Regions from separate parts of the Homo sapiens genome. Here regions 2, 3 and 4 are each linked to region 1. Evidence: promoter capture Hi-C in 16 types of primary human blood cells and fetal thymus (Javierre and others, 2016). All regions are on one chromosome and are shown on one strand. The core of a region is centred on a gene start or on the middle of the fragment in contact, and the rest is flanking DNA. Distances in the headings are between cores, read along the strand shown. Region 1 holds the start of TFDP2 (transcription factor Dp-2). Region 2 overlaps RASA2 (RAS p21 protein activator 2). Region 3 holds the start of TRPC1 (transient receptor potential cation channel subfamily C member 1). Region 4 overlaps PAQR9-AS1 (PAQR9 antisense RNA 1).

The links. Contacts are between HindIII fragments. The CHiCAGO score rates a contact against its expected background, and 5 or more counts as called.
Region 2: a fragment that was not itself captured here is called in contact with the fragment with the promoter of TFDP2 in region 1 in 1 of 17 cell types (total B cells); the score reaches 5.1 in total B cells.
Region 3: a contact is called between the fragment with the promoter of TRPC1 here and the fragment with the promoter of TFDP2 in region 1, in 14 of 17 cell types (fetal thymus, activated CD4 T cells, erythroblasts and 11 more). The highest score is 17.0, in fetal thymus.
Region 4: a contact is called between a fragment that was not itself captured here and the fragment with the promoter of TFDP2 in region 1, in 1 of 17 cell types (naive CD4 T cells). The highest score is 5.6, in naive CD4 T cells.

Annotation. Positions count from the first base shown.
Region 1 is chr3:142,148,278-142,154,115 of GRCh38, reverse strand. It overlaps TFDP2 (transcription factor Dp-2), which reads left to right and starts at 4,572. Exons shown (of 13, transcript NM_001178139.2): 1 at 4,572-4,933. RefSeq lists silencers at 4,297-4,346, 4,457-4,666, 4,727-4,796, 5,027-5,076 and an enhancer at 4,427-4,927. The HindIII fragment of the contact is 3,426 bases long and covers 1,918-5,343 here.
Region 2 is chr3:141,572,321-141,578,655 of GRCh38, reverse strand. It overlaps RASA2 (RAS p21 protein activator 2), which reads right to left. Exons shown (of 24, transcript NM_006506.5): 12 at 5,933-6,047; 13 at 5,435-5,509; 14 at 4,589-4,712; 15 at 1,550-1,656. Among named protein-coding and RNA genes, the nearest start is that of RASA2-IT1, 50 kb to the right of the region's middle. The HindIII fragment of the contact is 209 bases long and covers 1,320-1,528 here.
Region 3 is chr3:142,719,658-142,725,517 of GRCh38, reverse strand. TRPC1 (transient receptor potential cation channel subfamily C member 1) reads right to left here and starts at 1,484. Exons shown (of 13, transcript NM_001251845.2): 1 at 787-1,484. The coding sequence starts at 958. RefSeq lists an enhancer at 66-932 and a silencer at 1,191-1,240. The HindIII fragment of the contact is 1,344 bases long and covers 814-2,157 here.
Region 4 is chr3:142,993,494-142,999,414 of GRCh38, reverse strand. PAQR9-AS1 (PAQR9 antisense RNA 1) reads right to left here. Exons shown (of 5, transcript NR_125393.1): 3 at 5,275-5,418; 4 at 921-1,015. Among named protein-coding and RNA genes, the nearest start is that of U2SURP, 5.1 kb to the left of the region's middle. RefSeq lists an enhancer at 1-407. The HindIII fragment of the contact is 9,415 bases long and covers 1-5,921 here.

The DNA.
Region 1 (5,838 bases), core at 3,323-5,822:
GGGGTTGGCTTTTCCTCCTTCGTGTTTCACGCTTGCCGTCTCCCACTCCAGTTCATTGGAATCATCTCCCAAAATAAACCAACTGCATGTAAGAAATTGTGTCAGGGTGTTTGTGGGGAAGGAGAACCAGCTAAGATCTGTGCATTACCAGTTGTTAAATATTTTGACTGTCACCCCTGTTCATAATCTAAGACCCTGTGGAAAATTTCACATGTACAAAGGAGACAGGAATATTCATAGCATCAGAATATGAAAAAAGGTAAAAACTCCCAAATGCCTTTCAGTAAGAGAATGGATTATCTGCCGGGCATGTTGGCTCACATCTGTAATCCCAGCACTATGGGAGGCCAAGGCAGGCGGATCACTTGAGGTCAGGAGTTCGAGACGAGCCTGGCCAACATAGTGAAACCCCGTCTCTACTAAAAATACAAAAATTAGCTGGGATTGGTGGCGCGCACCTGTAATCCCAGCTACTTGGGAGGCTGAGGCAAGAGAATCACTTGAACCTGGGAGGCAGATGTTGCAGTAAGCTGAGATTGCACCACTGCACTCCAACCTAGGCAACAGAGCAAGAGTCTGTCTCAAAATAAAATTAAAAAAAAAATAATAAAATAGAATGGAGTATGTAAATGTTATTTTTGCATTAGTGAAAATGAATGACCACCCATCAAGATAGATGACCCTCTTAAAATGTTGAACAAAAAAAGATTGGCAGATGAATAATAAATTTTATTCTAAATTTATGAAGTTCAAAAACATGAAAAGCTAAGCAATATATTATTTGGATATACATACACGTGTGTTAAGATTATAAAGAAGAACATGGAAATTATACACAGAATTTAAGATGTTATTTTGGAAAGGGAAAGTTGTGGGGACACACTGGTAGGGGGCACATGAGGTTTCAATGGTGTTAATAATATGTTGCTTAAGCAGGTACATGAGGGTTTATCATGATTCCTCATATCTCACATTTACTTTATATTTTTTAGGGTGAATAAAATATTTTATCCTAAAAATATTTTAGGTTTGATATTAAGGGGTTACTTTTATTAAGGGTGACTTTGAAACCTTTCTACTGCTCTAATGCAGTCATTCCAGAAAACTGGGGAGAGGTTGAATCCCTCCCTGAGGAAATTCCGAGGCTTCGCCTCTACTCTGTCCTATTAAGGTGATTAAACTGTACATAACAGGATTGTCTCTAGAAGCAAGACCCAGATTTAACACTTATAAGTGTTATTTCTTTTGTCAGTCACTAGATGGATTTGGTGTGAAAAGAAGATGCTTTAAAAAAAAATCTGAAACTGTTCTGACAACTGCAGATCTTTTCATGTGATAAAAGGTGTCACTAAGGACCTTCTTACTCCAAGTGTGATTTTTGGCTGCTGAGGCAGCACCAGCATCACTTGGAAGCCTGTTGGAGATGCAGAATTGAAGCCACACCTTACAGACTGAATTGTAAGATTCCCTAAGTGATTACTGTGCACCTCAAGGTTTGAGAGGCAGTGGTCCAGGAGTCTGGTACTTCCACCTGCAAAAGCAGTATCCAGTGCCAGCAGAGGGGGCAGCACGTGGAAATGCCTCAGGTTTAACTGTAATGGACCCGTCTTTTTCACAACCCTCTTTGTGTTGGCTATTCTGTGGCCCGCATATTTCTAAATAGAGTAGACTTTATTATACCTCTCTCCTCTTTCCAAATTTGCTGGGCTGTGGACTCTCATCTATTCAATAAAAACATTGAACTTCCATTAAGCACTGAGGAGATGATAGTGAATAGAATGATATGACTTTGACTCTAGAAGCTTACAGTCTAATGGGATGCAGGTAGCAAGTGAGTAATTACAAGTTTAATGAATGTTGGAAAGTCAAAGAAAATTTTATGGGAAAACAGTTGGAGATGGGGACTCCGGGGAAGCTTTTCTGGAGAAAGTGTTGTTTAAGTTTAGATGAAAAGGCATGTGCAGGTGAGTTGTGGGTGAACTGGGGGATTGTTCCAAGCATAAGGAATGCCAATGAATGGTGCTCTTTGGACATCTGTTTGTATTGCCAGTGCCTTGCATAGTTCTTGGCATACAATAAGTGCTTAATAAATGTTTGCAGAATCAATAAATGTTCTGTCACATTTCAGATGTCTACTCTCTGGCATTGGAGATGGTGGAAACTTTATTTTCCTTTTCAAAGGAAATAAGATCCCTTAATGGGGAAATAAGAAAGAAAGCTGACTGTTGTGCAAATTGCTAAATTGGAACTATGAGTGGGAATGAAAAATTGATTTACATGAATTTTCTTCCCTGTAGCAACTTGACAATTTATTCTGTTCTGGAGAATTCTCAGTTTTTGGCTTAAAAACCAAGCTGTTCCTCCTTATTCTGAATTTCTTGGCCTGCTGTGAAACTAACATTTACTGTCTTTTACAACATGCCCTGATTAGGTCATGGAAATTCACAACTAAATCAAACTAGGATATGGAAAATTTGAAACTTTCACTGCCCATTTTATGTAATGGCGTTGGAAGGTGTTATAAAACATTGACTTTTAAATCTTTATTTTCAAAAGCTATATTATACGATGAATATAATAATTGCCATCATTTATTGAACACTTACTACATGCATTACATAGCAAAATCCTCATACTACCTCTGCAAGAGAGTAAGTTGAACCATATGAAAATTGCCCAATATCAGCAATTTCATGTGGTTCAACCTAGTATCTTCAGACTCTGACCTATAAAGAGGTTAGGGAATCCCTCATAGCCATAACTTCACTCCAAATTTAGTACTGAATCTTTTAGTACTATCTTTTATAGATAAAGAGATCCTAAGATAGTTACAGCTCCTCTATGACAGCGACCCCTTTCCCTACATTAGCCCAAGCACTTTGTGTGTGTACTTCCATCATGGTTATTTACGCATTGAATTGAGGTGGTTTACAATCCATTTCCTCTGCTACACTGAGTTCCTTGAGGGTGGATGTTTTGTCTGTCTTGCTCATTTTTGTATACGTAGTACCTAGAGTGAAAAGTATTTGTTGAATATAACTTTAAGTTTTCTTAAAGTTATATTTTTTGTGGAAACTAAATTTTTATTGATTTGTTACTGGAGAATGTGAAGTAATCACTGGGGTTTTTGCATTTTAGAATCAGTCAGTGGAGTACTGCATTTGACATTCTTGGACTCTCAGGACTAGTTACATGCAATTATGCATACAATTGTCTCTCCACCCTGCCCCAGAGAAAGATCTGAAAGTGCTCTCTTACCTATCTCATCTCCTTTAGGCATTTGCTTAAATACCACCTTCTCCGTGCTACCTTCCCAGATCACTCTATTTAGGACTGAAGCCATTCCTCCAACACCTCTGCTTATATTTTTTTCCCATAGCACACATACCAGCATGTAATATAGTTTTTGTTTTACGTATTCTTTTGCATATTATCTTTCCCATCCTGCTAGAATGTAAGCTCCATGAAGGCAGGAGTTTTTGTCTCTATTTTGTCCACTGATGTCTCCCCATATCAAGAATAGTGTTTGGGGCCGGGCGTGGTGGCTCACGCCTGTAATCCCACCACTTTGGGAGGCCCAGGCGGGAGGATCTCTTGAGTCCAGGAGTTCCAAACCAGCCTGGGAAACATGGCGAAACAGCCGGGTGTGGTGGCGCGGGCCTGTAGTCCCAGCTACTCGGGAGGCTGTGGTGGTAGGATCACCTGAGACTGGGAAGTCAGGGCTCCAATGAGCCGTGATCCTGCCACCGCACTCCAGCCTCGGTGAGAGCAAGACCCCGTCTCAAAAACAAACAAAGTGGCATATAGAAGATCTATAAGATTTGACTGGAGTAAAATGAGAAAGATCTAATCGTTTTAATGCGCTGTTCACACGGGGTTTTTAACTTCGGCACGAACGAATGAACAAAATCTTTTCATATGGAACCAAGTGTACGGGTATTTGGGGTGTGTGCAGTTTCCGCGGGACAGAATGACCTGTCCTGGTTTGGGTATTAACTTGCCTTGATATTGAAGAACCTCCACATTCCCAGTGGTCTCTAACTCATTGTCTGAATAATTTCAAGGTGTCCCACAGTTGGCCCCACGCATAGCCTCAATCACGATCACTCGCCCCCCTGTCCCTTATTGATGCTCCCCCAGGGCGACCCCGCAAAGGCCTGGGGACCGAATGGAACTGCCCCAGTCCCCCTCCTTCCAAGAGAGCTGGGGTTTTCTGGCTTCGGGGTCAGTTGGAAAAGAGATTCCCACCCAAGTCGCAGGGTGGGAGTAGGGGGGATGAGATAGGAGTGATGAAGGAAGTGTGTCTAAAATTCTAGGCCTCAGGCCCGCAGCTGTCCCTGGAGGCGGCGGGGAAGCGGGGTGGTCGGGTCCTGCGGAGGGCTCCCAGGGAGGCCACAGGGGGAACCAAGGGGCGGTGGCTGAGTGCACGAGTCCCGCCCCTCCATCTGTTGGCCCCCTACTCTCAAAGGGAAGCCTGGGGGCGGGGTTTGTTTACTCCGTGCACGCACTGCCGGCCCGGCCAATCCGTGGGGAGCGGCGCCAGGCGTCGCACATTCTGAGGGCCAATCGGCGCGCACTGTGCTGCTCCGCCGCCAAAGCTCGCGCGGGGGAAGCGGGGCTGTAGCTGGGCAGGGAGAGGGCGGACGAAATCGGTAGCGATCTCGGCTGCGGCGCTGCCGCAGCTGCCCGGCCCGCGGGGCGCGCCCTGACCCTTCATCTTTGGGCAGGCTCGAGGGCGCGCGCACGGTTGGCGTTCTGGGGCCTCAAACTCCTGGGCCTTGACCGGGCAGGCCGCGTCTCCCCGGGTGTGAGTCCACCGGGACCCGGCCGCCGCCTAAGCGCGGGCGCCACAGAAGCGGCGGCGCCCGAAGACGCGCTCCTGGCTCGGCCCGACAGCCTCGCTTGGCCGCCAGTTCTTCTGCAGCCGAAGGCGGTAAGGTCTGGGGCGAGGGCGCGGGCCCGCGCGCGGAGGGCCTTTGGACCCGGCCGGGCGCGTTCCTGGGTAGGTTTCCCTCCCTGCGCACAGGGGCCCCCTTGTTCCCCCACGAGTCCCATCTGTTTAGACCTGGGTTCTCCAGGCCTGGCCGGGTAACCCGTGAGTGTCTGGGCCAGAGTCGAAAGCAGAGGAGGGTCACCCTCTTAGTGCATAGAGCAAATCGGGGGAGGTAACGTCCCTGAGTCACGCCTCGTGGAAGAGGGGAAGGGCTGCTTTCTACTTTCTCGTTCTCTTCAAAGAAGGATGGCTTCTAAATCTGGTTTTCCGATTTTTCCCTTCTCCTTTCATGACTCACAGGCCTCTGTGTCCACCAGGTGTTTTGTTTGTTTTTAAAGAGTTTCTAAGCTTTGTGTGCTTGGAAGAACCTCATATGCCCCATAAAGGAACTTTTCTCTGAAGTAGAGGATCGCTTTTTGGGCCCAGACTCCTTTGAGAAAATCTGGAAAGCCAAGGTCTGTCTTCACAAAGAAGTGTAAGGGTTTTCCTAGGATCTCGCTGAGAGACAGTACAACGAAGTGGATGAGCGCCCCAGTCTCTCTTACCAGCCTGTGCTATCTCCCATTGTGTGATCTCGGTTTCTTCATCTGTAAATTAGATGCATCCACCTATTCGGTGTGTTTCGGGGAGTGAATGGACTAATGTATGGAATGCAATCGTAAGAAAATCCTCCACGTATTAAATGCCTTGCATTAGTTAGGCACTTTTATTATTGACTGCCATGGATGCTGGTTTAGAAAAAGACCCTATATTATTTCCCTTTTAGTGTTGAGACAGTGAACGGGCTCATTCCTTTTCCATATTCACTGCTGAAGCTGCCTTTGAGCCCATGAATACTTTTATCT
Region 2 (6,335 bases), core at 175-2,674, 570 kb after region 1:
GACAGCCCTGTGAACAAAAGGACACTGGCCCACTCTCTGCTGGGGCTACTCACAGACCATTTATCCTTTGGCAAGAAAGGGCGTGGTGCTGCCACTGCAACATGGTTCTATTCAGTTCTCACAAAGTTAAGTGAGTGTCAATGTCATGTAGCCGTTGAGAGAAGAAATGGGTATTCAGAACCTGGTTTAACTCTAAAACTCATCTGTTTTCCCTACACTATTGAGCAACTCCTCTTGGCTGTGAGTTTCCTAAGGGCAAAGAGTATCTTACTCATCACTGCATCTCCAGTACTGAGCATGGAATGATACATTATAGGTACTTGAACATCTGTCTAAGAGGTTGGAAGGGATAGGATTAAGCTCACAGATGATAAAGACTGACTGAATTTGAATCCCAGTTAAATCCAATTCAAATCGAGTATGATCAAATCATAATTTGTCAGTTGTGTGAGCTTGGAAAAGTTACTGTATTGTGATTTCCTTATCTGCACATGTGGATGATAACAGAATTTACCTTACCAGGTTGCTAGGAGGACCAAATAAGTTAACACATAAAGTAGTTAGAACAAGGCCTAGTACAAAGCACTAAATAAATGTGGACTATTGTTATTATTTGTTATACAAATCAGCAACTAGGAGCAATTAGGTAAGATTATAAAGTATTTGGAACATAAAAGCTTAAAGAATCAACCAAATTACACCATATAAGAAGGAATCAGAAGTATAGCAAAAATAAAGAATTTTAAAAATTAAGAAATAAACATGTAAATCTATGCAGTGGAGATTTAGATTTTTGGTAATTAAACAGGACTCCAGAACAAAGTTTATATGCTTAAGAAATTTTTAAATCTCATGTTTACAGTATTACCTCAGGTAAATAAAAAGTGAAAATACTGATATATTTAACAAGTTATATTCCAATAAAAGTTCCTACGCCTTTCACTATACTGCATTCTTGGTTTCTTTTTCTGTTTTTACTGTTAATGCTTATCCAGTTCACCTGCCATTTAATATTTTCTAATTATATGCTTTCAGTTTCATTGCTACTGAAATCTATCTTAGATGCTGTTTCTAAATTAAATGGAATTTCTCTTGTAGCCTTCTTTCTTAGAGAAGAGCCTCTTCAAATTTCTGTGCAATTTAAAAATATCTGCAAAATTAACCTATTTTAATAAATCAGGAAAGTAGATTTTGTTTAAATAAAAAACCTATCAAAATGAAACCTGTAACTAATGAAAAAAAACTTATGGAAATTTACAAACACACACAGTAGCAGATGAAAAAATATAATAAATCCCCTTTGTACTCATCACCAAGCTTCAATAATTAACAACATTTTATTACTCTTGTAGAACATCTTTTAACAACAACAAAAAATAGGATTATTAGCCTCACTTGAAAGACTGAAATGGCCAAGAAAAATGCTGAGTAAATTTAAGTATCAGTTATAAGAAAATACAGCCTAGTGAAATTGGTTTATTTTATCTTTTCTTCATTTTAATAAAAATTAAAAAAATGGAATAAAGCTTTCAGAAGAATGAACACTTACTGGATGATGAGGTCGCAAATGAAAAGTATGAGGTGATACTACGGCTACAGCAAAGAAACGAAGAAATACAAAGCTGCTCACTGCAGAATACTGAACATGAGGGTCATCTGCAGGAAAAAAATGGTGAAATGTCATGCACAAAAACAATTAAAAAACAAAGATGATAAATTAAAAAATATAGAAAAGACATGTAAACTAGGAGAGCAACATAATTTGTCTAGTAAGAACTGAGTTGATGAAATGATAGTGATATTTATGACTCAATTAAAAGAAAACCCCTATGATTAAAAAAATCCAAAAGAAATAAGAAATAATATGAAAAAAGACAAAGCTGCTAGGTTTTCAGAAATATTTTAATTTGAAAAATACCTCTTTCCTCACCTGCAAGAAGAGACTGCTAAAATTACAACAGAAATAAAAGTAGTATCTAGCACTACCTAGTGGTAACACTGAATCCCTTAAGAGTATGATACAAGGCTACTTTCAGTTTTAGGTTCTTGTTTCAATATCCCCCCCAAAAATCTTGATAATATCAAAAGTTATGCAACAAAAACAATTAGGCAGAAATGTTTACTTTAAAAAGCTATCAACAGTCCATAAATAAAAATGCAGATGAACTGAAGACTACTGGTGGCTTTGATCATTCACCTACAACTTTCGTTTCAGACTGGAGTCAACAATTTACCCAACAATCAGACAGATGGTGGTGAAGCAGATGGTGAGGGAAAGAATCTTTAGGTTTGGTTCGAGTTTTAACTCTTCTAAGTCATTCAGTAGGTAACCATTAACAAGTCGTTTAATTTGTCATTCTTTAGTAATATCTGCTTTCTACCTGCTGTCTGCTCTGCCCTCCTTCCCCCATTCTTCTAGGGTAGTAAGAACAACAAAAACGAGAGAATATGAAACACTTATGGCAACAAAACTGTCACTACTATAGTCTACTGAGGATATGATAACCATATTAATAGTTAAGTCAACAAAAACATAACTAAAGAGATACATCTGCATGTATATAAAAACATAAAGTGTTGGCCGGGCGCGGTGGCCCACGCCCGTAATTCCAGCACTTTGGGAGGCCGAGGCAGGTGGATCATCTGAGGTCAGGAGTTTGAGACCAGCCTGACCAACATGGAGAAACCCCATCTATACTAAAAATACAAAATTAGCCAGGCGTGGAGGCACATGTCTGTAATCCCAGCAACTCGGGAGGCTGGAAACCTGGGAGGCGGAGTTGCAGTGAGCCGAGATTGTGCCATTGCACTCCAGTCTGGGCAACAAGAGTGAAACTCAGTCTCAAAAACAAAAACAAAAACAAAACCCAAAAAAACCCCATAAAGTGTTTAAGATCATTTATATAAACAAGAATTAAACTGCTAAAACAGATTTAAGGCCAAGATCACCAGTTAGTATAGAGTATAGTGAATGGCAGCATGTAGTTTGGAGTAGACTAGGCCCAGGTTTGAGGCCCTGCTTGCCTGTTGGCCACGCCACAGACCTTGGTAAAGTTACTCAGCTTCTCTAAACCTTAGTTTCTCACCTAATGGGAGTAGTACCTACCTCATGTGGTTTTGTGAAGATGAGAACAGGAGACAATGGAGGCTAACACACTAACACTGTGTGTGTTACTAAGTAGTCAATGTGGTTATCATGATTTAACTATTTAAAAATATAATTTCAATGAGCATTTCACCTTTCCGTGTGCCTCTGGCTCCCCTTATTTTTGTTATGAAGATTAGATTTAGTTACTTATTTGCAACTATAATTAGCAAAGACATTTAGATCTAAATTTATCTACATGTTAGACAACTCAGCCCCACTAATTTAGTAATGGGTCAATTTAGTAGAAGTGCAGTTAACTGCACACATGTGTGTACAGGGTGAGCACATGCTTAAAAGAACATAAAACTGCAAAATCTCTTCAGATGGTTACAGAAATAAACTTACAGTTTTGCACAGCTGGTTAAGACTGGTAATTTAAGTACCTGCCTAATTTTACCCTCCTACCCACCACCTCCCATTATAGACAGATCTGGAAAGCTACCTATAGCAAGTTTATTTACTTATCAGAAATATATTAAAATGTGAATAATTCTAAGTATTAGCAGCGACAGTAACACTTAATTTTATGAAAAGTTTCTAAGCAAAACCTTGACATAGCTACTTTTTCAAAATTAAAACATGCCAGTTACTGATATATGTACCTTAAAACTCTATGTATGTTACAACAGAAAGGTTTCTAATGTCTAAGACCATTTCTGTAAAAACCTCTCACCACCAAAACCTTATTAGCATTCTCAAACTGTCAAATCTAGTCAATTTTATGGAACTAAAGATTCTCACTATCTGAATGCATGCAGCTGGAAAAGATAGTTGGTATAAATAACAAAGGTATTTTTAACTCTCATAAGCATCTGGTATAAGTGCTTACTTATATAATGTTACAGTTCTGAATTTTTGCCTTTCTTTAATGGTGATTTTGATTTGCTCTTTGTATAAAGTTGCATTATACTGAAATAAAATGGAATATGTATTTTGAGATTTCAAGAAAAATCAGATTTCTTATGAGAAAGATAGAATCATTTTGAAAAACTAAAGAAGGTTGTACTTAAAAACCTTAGGCTGGGCGTGGTGGCTCACGCCTGTAATCCCAGAAACTTTGGGAGGCCGAGGCGGGCGGATCACGAGTTCAGGAGATCGAGACTATCCTGGCTAACATGGTGAAACCCCGTCTCTACTAAAAATATAAAAAATTAGCTGGGCATGGTGGCGGGCGCCTGTAGTCCCAGCTACTCGGGAGGCTGAGGCAGGAGAATGGCATGAACCCGGGAGATGGAGGTTGCAGTGAGCCAAGATAGCGCCACTGCACTCCAGCCAGGGTGACAGAGCAAGACTCCGTCTCAAAAAAAATAAAATAAAATAAAATAAAAATAAATAAATAAATAAAAACCTTAAATATCTCACAAACCAAACATGTAATTAATATCTATAAAAAAGTCAAAGAAAAATAAATGGCATGTTTTAGTAAAACAAGGCACTTACTAGGAAATCTCTGAGTAGCCATCTGCCTTAGAGAATAAAAGATATCACACATTACAGTGGGGCAGCTCATACTTGATTTTACAATTGTATTGAATAACTTGTCTACATAGTAGCGCAGATTCTCCTGCAGGATTTAAAAAGGTAAACATTAAGATTTTGATGTTCACACATCTTCAATAGCCTTCATGAAAGAAAAATGTAAGAAAATGAGGTTTATTAGACAGTCACTATCTAACATTTTTTAAAGTACTGTTACCCTTTTCCAAACTCATTCAGTTTAAGGACAATTTACATACTGACTTAATTTAATAAATTAAATTTAGATTTGCTAGGCGTAAGAGGTGAATCTATGAATAAACCTCACAAGAAGCAAGAGGGAATAAAATGATCCAAAAGGAAATCACAAAATAACTCGGATACACAAGCACAAGGACATTGTGACACTATTATCCACTGCAATAAAAATTTGTGACCCTAACACAATCATTGTTTTTTCAGAGGCCACTGAAACTACTGACTGATAAAGTCACTGTGTCACTTAGCCTGATCAGTTTGAGCCCAAAGGAATGGCTAGAACGGGGGCTGCAACTAGCTATAGCTTAAGTTCACTATTGTTACTAGAGCCAAAAAGAGACAATCAAGAACAAAAATAAAGTGAAACCACTGAGGAAATAACATTCTAAAAACTAATCCTAGGAGCTGGAAGTGCTGCTAATAATAAAGGCTTATGTGAAGAATAAACAGCACTGCTTCCCTCTATATGGCTTTATCATAATGTAAGTGGGAGAAAGGTACACCATTAAGACCAATTTTAATGCAATTATAAATAATATAACAAGGACTTACCTTATTATTTTCTACATTATCTCCCTCTTTCAATTTAATAGGATCGATTTCACAGGATTTTGAGGAGTCACATATCTGAAAAATAAATTTTTCAGTTAATGATTTTTTTCTAAGTAGTCTGACAAAATGAAAATAACTTATTTTTCTGATAATAAAAGTTAATTATAGAAATTTAAACTGTAGCAAAGCGTAAAATGTCCTATGCAGGGATAACATATACAATTTTCTTAAAACATGATATCAAAAAGTATTTGTCATATATTTGAAACTCTAGCTAAAATAGAAATCCCATAACAAAGAAATAATGTAGATTATACTATACTGTACCTTTTGAGTAAAAATCCATTGACAGAGAAGTAAATAATTTGCTTCTAAAGTGTTCAGTCTATTTTTTCAGTAACACATGAATGAATAAATCCTTCCCATCAATAGATCACTTGATAAAAGAACAACTATCATAAGGCCACAAACTATCATTGTTGGAGATATATTCTGTACCTCATCAAGAATAGGTTTTAATGTTACTTTCAGGTAGTGCCCTCCCACTATTTTCATCATCTCATCCAGACATCGGGTAGCCAGGGAATTTCCTCTAAAAATTGTGTTTGCATCTCTGAAATAGAAATAGATGAAACCAAATGTAGTAAACAAAGGTTTTGAAACCAATAATATAACATACTTGACCAATTTAAGAAAGAAGCATTTAGCTGAAATAGATTAAGACATACTAGAAGGCATAAGTGACCTACAATTTTAGTAATTTTTACCATTTATTTAAAAGCTTGCTGCCATTAGGTTTTTCAAACTTACCAAAAATATATTAAAATAATGGCCAGGTGTGATGGCTCATGCCTGTTATCCCATCACTTTGGGGGTCCGAAGCAGGTGGATCGCTTGAAGT
Region 3 (5,860 bases), core at 235-2,734, 570 kb before region 1:
TCTAGACTAAAAAAAGGATAACGCGCTAAATATATTCCACATATTTTTGCCTTGTAATTCCTGTAATTATTTTTCACTATCTTTATCTCCCAAAGAAAGATCTGGGAGCAATAAATCTTTCTCTCCAATAAAAAGCACTAACAATCAAAGGCGTTCCGTAAATCCAGAGAAAGTTTTGGCAACTAAGGCAGAATTTCTTCCGTCCCGTCCTTACTTCATGTATCTCCACCTAGGATATTCCGTTATTAATGCCAGTCAACAGTCACTGGCTAAAGCACTGGTCAGGTGAAGCTAAATAATAGAGGGTCTGGTTTTGTTTTTAAGAAAAACAAAAACCAGGTGATGAGAACCCTCCATACGAGGCATCCTAAGGTAAGGTGACGGAATTTTCCGACTGGAGTGTCGGAAACTAGCCTCTCGACTCCCGGAAGGAATGAACTGCGAGCCAGAGAGAAGACCAGGTCATTCATGCGGTCAGTAGCAAGGGCGGCGCTAAAACGCTGGGGTCGGGGCTCCCAAGGCGCTACCTAAACCCCGGACCCCAAGGCCAGAGCCACCCCCGACGGTGCAGCGCTCCGAGGGCGCAGCCCCAGCTCCACTCTCCCGCCAGCTCCACACTCACAGGGCAGAGGCGGTGAGGAGAAGACCGCCTGAGGCAGCAGGCGAGGCGGGAAGACACTCGGCGCCTGAGACAGAGGGAATGCCCCGATATAAGTTGAGGCGGGGGAGAGGACTAAAGGTCTGGAGGACAGGGGCGTCCAGAGGAGAAAGGGGCCTAACTCTCACCCTTGTCGCACGCCAGCAAGAAAAGCTTCTCATTCAGCGTATTCTCCTCCTTCACCTCCCGCACATCCTTCAGCGCCATCACCTCGTTCGGCGAGGAAGAGGATGGAGAGGAAGGCAGGGAGGAGGAGGAGGCGCCCGAGAGGTCCGTGCTCGGGTACAGGGCCGCCATCATCGCGGCCCATGAAGGGGGCAGGCCAGGAGACGGGGGCGGGGCCCCCACCGGCCCCGACCCCGACCCCGACCCCAGCCACGCCCCAGGGCTGGAAAAAGGATGAGTCGTTCCCACTGCTGCCTCGGCTCGAGGCCCGTTGGCCCCGAAGGGCGTCGCCTCCCCTGAGAACCAGCACTCGCCCTCCACTGACAGCCCCAAGTTGGTGGCGGCGCATGCGCGGCCCCGGGGCCAGCGACCCCTCCCCAGCCGCCGGCGCCCCGGCCGAGCCGGTCCGCGCCCGTCCGGGGACGACAGTGTGGCGCGCGCCAGGGCGGCAGCCGAGCACGGGGCCGTGCCAGGAGTCGCAGGGGCCGCGCCTGGGGCGGCCTAGCCCAGGAAGAGGACGAGAGATCTGTGGGAGAGGAGCTCCAAGAGGCGCTTCTGCGCACGTTGGGCTCCAGGGCTGTGGGAACCGCTGGCCCAGCTGCGCTCCGAGGAGATGTTCGCGACTCTGTCCTCACGTCATCCTCTGCTCCTCTGTAGCGACGACACTAGGGAGGAGCCTGCGGCAAGGGCGGGCTTGGGTGGGCGGGGCCTGCGGCAAGCGGGGCGTGGGTGGGTGGGGCCTGCGGTGGGGACGCACTGGGCTCCTGGAGCCCGCTGCAGCTTCCTTCGCTCTGGTGAGGTGAACCGCAGTCTGAGGAAGACTTCGCTCAATCGTCCCTTTCCACACCCAGGGTACTGGTTTAAGGTAATTAAGCAAATATGGAGCAGTATGTTAATTGAGTCTCTGACGACTTAATGTTTAGTCGAAATCCTTTGTGGAATTGTCCAGCTATTTCATATTCTGGTGCACTATGCTTTAAAGCACAATGGAGAGCCAGACTCGTGGGTTTGTATGTTGTACTCATTTTAGGCTGGAAATGAACTCTCATTTATAAAGGATATATAGATATATAATTATATTATGTTTAAATAATTTATACAAATATATAAATTTTTATTTCCATATTATTTCCATAGGTTTTTGAGGAACAGGTGGTGTTTGGTTACATGAGTAAGTTCTTTAGTGATGATTTGTGAGATTTTGATGTACCCATCATCGAGCAGTATACACTGAACCTAATTTTGTAGTCTTTTATCCCTCTCCCCCTTCCCAACCTTTCCCCGAGTCCCGAAAGTCCATTGTGTCATTCCTATGCCTTTGCATCCTCAAAGCTTAGCTCTCACTTGTGAGTGAGAACATACGATGTTTGGTTTTCCATTCCTGAGTTACTTCATTTAGAATAAGAATAATAGTCTCCAGTCCCATCCAGGTTTCTGCGAATGCCATTTATTCATTCCTTTTTATGGCTGAGTAGTATTCCATCATTATATATATATCACATATATATATACCACATATATATATATATATATATATATCACAGTTTCTTTATCCACTCATTGATTCATGGGCATTTGGGTTGGCTCCACATTTTTGCAATTGCGAATTGTGCTGCTATAAATATGCATGGGCAAGTATCTTTTTCGTGTAATGACTTCTTTTCCTCTGGGTAGATACCCAGTAGTGGGATTACTGGATCAAATGGTAGTTCTACTTTTAGTTCTCTAAGGAATCTCCACACTGTTTTCCATAGTGGTGTACTAGTTTACAGTCCCACCAGTAATGTAGAAGTGTTCCCTTTTCACCGCATCCACACCAACAGCTATTATTTTTTGATTTTTTTGATTATGGCCATTCTTGCGGAAGTAGGGTGGTACATACGGCATAGCAGTTTTGACTTGGAATTCCCTGATCATTAGTGATCTTGAGCATTTTTTCATATGTTTGTTGGCCATTTGTGTATCTTCTTTTGAGAATTGTCTATTCATGTTTTTTTGTTTTTTCTTGAGACAGAGTTTTGCTCTTGTTGCCCAGGCTGGAGTGCAATGGCGTGATCTTGGCTCACCGCAACTTCCGCCTCCCAGGTTCAAGTGATTCTCCTGCCTCAGCCTTCCGACCAGCTGGTATTACCGGCATGTGCCACCACACCCGGCTAATTTTGTATTTTTAGTAGAGACAGTGTTTCTCCCTGTTGGTCAGGCTGGTCTCGAACTCCAGACCTCAGGTGATCTGCCTGCCTCAGCCTCCCAAAGTGCTGGGATTACAAGCATGAGCCACTGCCCCCAGCCCTTTTCATGTTTTTAGCCCAGTTTTTGTTAGGATTTTTTTTTTCTTGATTATTTGTTTGAATTCATTGTAGATTCTGGATAGTAGTCCTTTGTCAGATGCATAGATTATGAAGATTTTCTCCCACTCTGTGGGTTGTCTGTTTACTCTGCTAACTCTTCCCTTTGCCATGCAAAAGCTCTTTCATTTAATCAAGTCCCAGCTATTTATCTTTCTTTTCATTGCATTTGCTTTTGGGTTCTTGGTCATGAAATCCTTGCCTAAGCCAATGTCTACAAGGGGTTTTCCGATGTTATCTTCTAGAATTTTTATAGTTTCAGGTCTTAGATTTAAGTTCTTGATCCATCTTGAGTTTATTTTTGTATAAGGTGAGAGATGCAGATCCAGTTTTATTCTCCTACGTGTGGCTTGCCAATTATCCCAGCACCATTTGTTGAATAGGGTGTCTTTTCCCCCACTTTATGTTTTTGTTTGCTTTGTTGAAAATCAGTCGGCTGTAAGTATTTGGGTTTATTTCTGGGTTCTCTATTCTGTTCCATTGGTCTATATGCCTATTTTTATGCCAGTACCATGCTGTTTTGGTGACAGTAGCCTTATAGTATAGTTTGAAATCAGGTAATGTGATGTCTCCAGATTTGTTCTTTTCGCTTCATCTTGCATTGGCTATGCAGGCTCTTTTTTGGTTCCATATGGATTTTAGGATTATTTTTTCTAGTTCTGTGAAGAATGATGGTGGTATTTTGATGGGAATTGCATTGAATTTGTAGATTGCTTTTGGCAGTATGGTCATTTTCACAATGTTGATTCTACCCATCCATGAGCATGGGATGTGTTTCCATTTGTTTGCCTCGTCTGTGATTTCTTTCAGCAGTGTTTTGTAGTTTTCCTTGTAGAGTTCTTTCTCCTTCTTTGTTAGGTATGTTCCTAAGTATTTTATTTTTCTAATAAAACAAAATACTTTTGCCGCTATTGTCAAAGGAATTGAGTTCTTTGTTTGATTCTCAGCTTGGTTGCTGTTGGTGTATAGGAGGGCTACTGATGTGTGTACATTAGTTTTGTATCCTGAAACTTTGCTGACTTCTTTTATCAGTTCTAGGAGCATTTTGGAGAAGTCTTTAGGGTTTTCTAGATATACAATCATATCATCAGCAAACAGCAACAGTTTGACTGCCTCTTTACTGACTTGGATGCCCTTTCTTTCTTTCTCTTCTCTGATTGCTCTGGATGGGACTTCCAGTACTATGTTGAAGAGGAGTGGTGAGAGTGGGCATCCTTGTCTTATTCCAGTTGTCAGAGGGAATGCTTTCAACTTTTCCCCATTCAGTATTGTGTTGGCTGTGGGTTTGTCATAGATGGCTTTTATTACATTGTGGTATGTCCCTTGTATGCCAGTTTTGCTGAGGGTTTTAATCATAAAGGGATGCTGGATTTTGTCAAGTGCTTTTTCTGCGTCTGTTAAGATGATCATGTGATTTGTTTTTAATTCTGTTTATGTGATGTATCACATTTATTGACTTGCATATGTTAAACCATCCCTGCATCCCTGGTATGAAACCCACTTGATCATGGTGGATTATCTTTTTGATATGTTGTTGGATTCAATTAGCTAGTATTTTGTTAAGGATTTTTACATCTATGTTCATCTGGAATATTGGTCTGTAGTTTGGTTTTTTTTTTTTTTTTTTTTTTGGGTTATGTTCTTTCCTGGTTTTGGTATTAGGGTGATACTGGCTTCATAGAATGCTTTAGGGAGGATTTCCTCTTTCTGTGTCTTGTGGAATAGTGACATTCTTCTTTAAATGTCTTTAAATGTCACAGGATCAGCTGTGAATCTGATCCTGGACTTTTTTTGTTGGTGATTTTTTTTATTACCGTTTCAATCTTGCTGCTTGTTATTGGTCTGTTCAGAGTATCTAATTCTTCCTGATTCAAGCTAGGTGGGTTGTATCTTTCCAGGAATTTATCCATCTCCTCTAGGTTTTCTAGTTTATGTGTGTAAAGGTGTTCATAGTAGCCTTGAATGATCTTTTGTATTTCTGTGGTGTCAATTGTAGTATCTCCCATTTCATTTCTAATTGAGCTTATTTGGATTTTCTCTCTTCTTTTCTTGATTAATCTTTTTAATGGTCTATCAATTTTATTTATCTTTTCAGAGAACCAGCTTTTTGTTTCTTTTTTTTTTTTTTTGTGATGGAGTCTTGCTCTGTCACCCAGGATAGAGTGCAGTGGCGCAATCTCAGCTCACTGCAAGCTCTGCCTCCCGGGTTCATGCCATTCTCCTGCCTCAGCCTCCTGAGTAGCTGGGACTACAGGTGCCCACCACCACGCCGGGCTAATTTTTTGTATTTTTTTAGTAGAGACGGGGTTTCACTGTGTTAGCCAGGATGGTCTCGATCTCCTGACCTTGTGATCTGCCCGCCTCGGCCTCCCAAAGTGCTGGGATTACAGGCGTGAGCCACTGCGCCCGGCCTATTTCATTTGTCTTTTGTATTTTTTTTTTTCCATTTCAATTCCATTTAGCTCTGCTCCGATCTTATTTCCTTTCTTCTGCTGGGTTTGGGTTTGGTTTGTTCTTGTTTCTCTAGTTTCTTGAGGTATGACCTTAGATTGTCTATTTGTGCTCTTTCAGACTTTTTGATGTAGGCATTTAGGGCTATGAGCTTTCCTCTTAGCACCACCTTTGCTGTATCCCAGAGGTTTTGATAAGTCATGTCACTATTGTTGTTCAGCTTGAAAAATTTTTAAATTTC
Region 4 (5,921 bases), core at 2,081-4,580, 850 kb before region 1:
TCGTGATCCACCCACCTCGGCCTCCCAAAGTGCTGGGATTACAGGCGTGAGCCACCGCGCCCAGCCTAGATCTTAACTGTTTATAGGATTAGAAAGTGAAATCATCAGCTGAGATGAAGAGGAGAAGTGGGACTGGGTATGCCTTGTGGTGTTCTGACAATGCCACAGGCTGATTTTGTCACTAGAAAGTGAATATGTGTAGCTTTTCAGTCAAATCCCCAAAGTCCTACTTATTTTAAAAATAATTTTTACTAAATACTCCTGAAGAGTCAAAAACAAAAGAATGCAGACTTCTTTCCTCTCTTCTTTTTTATATTGTAAGCCCCAAAGCAAGTCAGACAAATATGATGTGACTAGAAATAATACGGGCCTTTATTAAGGGTTAAGTACGCTTTTAAAAATTCAAAATCATTGCCAGGCACAGTGGCTCAGGCTTGTACTCCTAGCACTTTGGGAGGCCAAGGCGGGCAGATCAAGGCAGGCAGATGGCTTGAACCCATGAGTTCGAGACCAGCCTGGGCAACATGGCAAAACCTTATTTCTACAAAAAAATATTTAAAAATCAGCCAGATGTGGTGGCATGCATCTGTAGTCCCAGATAGGAGGCTGAAGTGGGAGGACCACCAGAGCACTGGGAATCTTGCCATTGCACTCCAGTCTGGGCAACAGAGTGACCCTATCTCAGGAAAAAAAAAAAAAAATTGAACATCACAATTATGAGTAAGAATTCTTGATACGTGAAATTCTGGCCCTATTACGTCATGAAATTCTGGCCCTATTACTCAAATTACAAATTCAGGAAAGTGAAATAGCATGAAAATAATCCAAATGGAATTTTATGGAATCTGAATAATTAGATTAGTGCTAAGGGACTACACATAAACAGTAAGAATCATGCAATTTACTGCAACTAGTATTACCTTTTTACAATTACAGTAAAACCATGCCATTTTTCTCTTCCCGATGTGTTGATTTTCTGGTGCCCACACCTGCCATTTGTTTTTAAGGCTTCTCCCTGCAGCAGATACGTTCAAGAGAAATTACAAAGTAGTGCCATATACAATACTGAGATGTTTTGTTTGGTTCATTCAGGGAGATTTTTTCTTTGAAATTTGAGCTAGCATTTTAAAACAGAGAGATTTTACATAAAACTCAGGGTTTCTAGCCTTTCTTGAAAAATGGGGAAGTCTGGCAACACTGGGGGACAATCCAGGTGAGGTGGCCTGCAGCGACTTCTAGGGAAGGGGGCTATGAACACCAGTTTAGCCACCAACTCATCATACACGGTGGACAAATTCCCCATACCCAGCCTGCTTGTAGGCATTTCAGTTTTCTACTTCTGATGTACAGTGTAATACTTACCTGGGGTGATGATCAAAACATTACCAACCAGTTCCCCCAGGCACCAGCCAGAACTGACTTGTTAGTAAGGTACAGGAGACTCAGTGCCTAGGGCTCACAATAATTTTTAGACCTCCCCACCAAAAATGTTTTGATTTCTTTAAGGAGGAAAAAAGTGGAGTGGAGAAAGTATTTAACAATACAAACAGCTGTGGAACCTGTGCATGCTGAAAGATAGAGACCTTAAAAAATGATTGCCCCAAAGCTACAGCCTCCTGTATTGTGCCAATGGACTGCTCCTACTTGGTGGCATTTTCATTCTAGACAGTTTTTAAACAGTTTTTCCCTGCTCTCTGGGTTTCAGGATATAGGCTGGTAAAAGGAACACTCCATTTGCTTCTTTGGCATTTATTGAGTTTCTAGCTTGTGCTAGGCTCTGAAGAAAGAAGATAAAAGGAGAGACAACTAAAAATCAGACTTAATGTCTTCTGCTAAGACAGATCCTAGCTGCTTCTAGGAATAATTAGGAAACAGCCTTCACGGAGGTGTGGTCAGTGTGGAATGGAAAATTCCTTCTGCTGCACTTGACTGCCTGCCCCACACCCACCCCACAACGTAAGTGTTATGAATAAGGTTTTAGTAGCAACAGCAGCTGCTCCCCCTTTCTCACACACACAAAAATTACCTGACTCACTTATTGATTATATACAGATTCCTTTGACAATAATAATTAGCAGTGGCAGCCAGGCGCAGTGGCTCACGCCTGTAATCCTAGCACTTTGGGAGGCCAAGGCAGGTGGATTGCCTGAGCTCAGGAATTTGAGACCAGCGTGGGCAACATGGTGAAACCCCTTCTCTACTAAAATACAAAAGAAATTAGCTGGGCATGGCAGCGTGCACCTGTAGTCCCAGCTACTCAGGAGGCTGAGGCAGGAGAAATGCTTGAACCCAGGAGGCAGAGGTTGCAGTGAGCTGAGATCACACCACTGCACTCCAGCCTGGGCAACAAAGCGAGACTCCGTCTCTACAAAAAATAATAATAATAATAATAATAATAATAATTAGCAGTGGCATTTTTTTAAAAATGATGTCAAAAAGTATATAGCCCAAGAATACACTGGTGCCATGTTGAAAATAATAGAAATTGCCATTTTAACTATGATCCTAGTGAGAAGGAAACCTTTACTGTGTAGGAATTATTTTATCAACAAGGTTAATAAAATCTAGGAGAGTCCAGATGGCGTACTGTGGAAATGGAAATGAGCGTTCCTGAGTGTGTGTGTGTGTGTGTGTGTGTGTGAGTGTGATAAAGGAGGACTCAAGGTTCCTGTGGCAGGTCATGAGAACCAGCACACGGCAAATCTGGGGAGCTCTCTCTTGCCATGGCCAGGCAACCCAAAGGTGGGCTTGACTTGGACCACCAAAGATAAGGCCTCACTTAACTTGTGACCTGGCTTTGGCCAGTGCGAAGCGTACATATCCCCATATTTACTGAAACTCACGAGACAAGACCAGGTAATATTACAGGCTGGGTGGAGAATGAAGTTATGAAAAGAAAATGAAAGAAGACTTTCCCTCATCAATTTCATCTGTTAATAACAAAAGTTGTTAGTAACAGTGGTCTTAAAACACATAAGGCTTTATTTTGACATTGCTATAGTGGTAAGATTCTATCAAAACAACATGGCATACCTTTCTTCTTTTTCAAGTTTTGTTCCATTTCCTTCACATTAACTTTGCATTATTTCCTGTTACTTTAATTGTTAGGTATTTTGTCTTTTCTGTTGTTACTGTGATTATAGTAAGTTTTTGTATTTATGTATGTCCTAAATAAGCTGTTTATTGATATATTAATGTTGTGTAATGTGTTTACTGAATTCTTTTATTATTTACATAGGTTTTCAGTTTATTCCCTTGAACTTTCAGGTATACAATCATATTTGCAAATAATTACCAGTTTGCCTCCTCCTTTCCCATTTTTATACTTTTTTCTTGTATAATTACATTAGCCAGTACCCCCAGAATAATGTTAAGAGTGGTGCTAATGAACATGCTTGTCTTTTTTTTTTTTTTTTTTTTATCGAGATGGAGTCTCTCTCTGTTGCCCAGGCTAGAGTGCAGTGGCACGATCTCTGCTCACTGCCAGCTCCGCCTCCCGGGTTCACGCCATTCTCCTGCCTCAGCCTTCCGAGTAGCTGGGACTACAGGTGCCCGCCACCACGCCCGGCTAATTTTTTGTATTTTTAGTAGAGATGGGGTTTCACCGTGTTAGCCAGGATGGTCTCGATCTTCTGACCTCATGATCCGCCCGCCTTGGCCTCCCAAAGTGCTGGGATTACAGGCGTGAGCCACCGCGCCCGGCCAAACATGCTTGTCTCATTCCTGACTCTAATGAGATGATTTTAGTATTCTTATGAGGATAAGGATAACTTTTTGGGTTGTACCTTGAATTGTACATTAACTTTTTTTTAGCTAACTGTGGAACTGAATAGAATTTAAAACTCTCATAAGAAAACTAAGGGACTGTGAGGATACACCAAAGAATGCCAATGGTCACACAGCCCTGTTAGAGAAACATTGTTAGAGGCTTGTGTCAAGACAAACCAGGACATCTCCCTGACTTGGGAAAATAGGGGAACAAAGTAGAAATGTCCCACTCTGCACACCAGTGAAAATGAGCAGTGTGGAACGCAGATTAGGAGGAGGACAGGTAGAAATCTGTATAGTTTCCTATTGCTGCTGTAGCAAATTACCACAAAGTTAGTGGCTTACAGCAACTCAGATGTATTTTATAGCTCTGGAGGTCAGAAATATAAAATGTACCACCAGGCCCGTGCTTATTTTGGAGTCTCTAAAGAATAATCCTTTTCTTTCCCCTTCCCAGCTTCTAGAATTCACCTGCATTCCTTGGTCTGTGGCCCTCTCCTCCATTAGCATCTTCTGACACTTGCCTCCACCCTTATCTCTTCTCCAACTCTGCTCCCTCCCTCTTATAAGGACCCTTGTGATTACATTGGCTCTACTATGACAATCCAGGATAATCTCCCATCTCAAGAGCCTTAATCACAGCTGCAAAGTCCCTTTGCCATGTTAGGCAATATATTTGCAGGTTCTGGGGATTAGGGTGTGGACATCTTTGGAGGGCCATTATTCAGTTTACCATAGGATCTATAATGAACTTTCTGTTTCTGTATTTTGTCCCTGGCTGAAAGGACACAGCTTTGATCCCACCAGAGAACTGACTTGGGAATGGTCCTAATAAATATAGTCATCTTTAATCAGTTGAGTTCTGAAATCATTACTTGGGAATTCAATGGGTAGAAGGTGTGGTTCCAGTGAGGATGGGATAAGACAGGTCCCTGTTGTCAAAGGGCTTGCAGGGCATAAAACACTCCCAGATGTATCACAATAAGATGCTAAGAAGTACAGGCTGAAATTTTAGTTTGATTTGTTCACTGCTGCATCTGCAATACCTAGAACAGAGTAAGCACCATGCAGGTACTCAATGAATATTTGTTAAGGAATGAAATGAGCACCAGAAACAGTTTTATGGAAACACAGGAGAAGATTGGTTTGGGAGAAGTCAGGAAAGACCTAATGAAGGATACTCTAGAACCACTGGGAGTGTCTGTCCAGCTCTCAAGATTTCACCTCTGGGGTTAATTAACTTCTGCGAGGGCAGGATGAAGACCTTAGCACAGTGTTGCCTCACTTTAAGAAGATTCCAATTATGCTAATTTGAAACAGACTTAAAAGTCTCCCCTTAAGTACCAATTGTGAAATAATACAGATCCCCTTTCATGCCCAATTTTTGCTTTTTTTTTTCCTTCAAGAATTGAGTAATTTCTATGCAGGCAGGCATAGAAATTACAAACATCATTTACTATTTTGCCACGTGGTGGCGCTGCTGCCACTGGTAAACAAAACACCCACCTTTGGTACATTTTCTGTGAACACACACACACAGTGATCTTGGTGCTCTTGCCACACTTGTTACAATTCAGACTCCTTCTAACTTCCTGTTGTCAACCAAGCTCTCCTTGAGCAATGATGCTTGTCCTGGTGCTGAAAAACGTGCTAAAAAATAGAGAGGAAGTTAAATGTAATTTTAAAAAATCATGGCATACTGTGTTGTTCATTTACTAGAAAACAGTGTGCAAAACATCAGGTCTAACAAAAATATGAGAAATAACTTTAGAGATCATCTCCCTACGGTCAGGCTTGCTCTGTTTCAGGAGGGCAGGGATGCCACTGAATCCCAGCATCCTGCACAATGCCTACCACAGAGTAGACAAAAAATAAATATTTGTTGAATAAAAAATGAACATGGAAAAAGATGACTGCCCTATAACTCCCAACAATATTACCTCACCTTTACCTCTACACAGAGACTAATAACAAGTTTCTAAAATCAAATTCCAAATTCTTAGGACAAGGTTCTGAATAGTCCAACTGGGGCTAACCGCTCATTCTTGGTCTAATCAATTGTGCCCAAAGAAAGTCCAAATGGCCCTCAGAGGCTCGCTGTGGAATGACTGAAGATTTCGAAGGTGGGGCAAAACTGTCGATTGTATGAATAA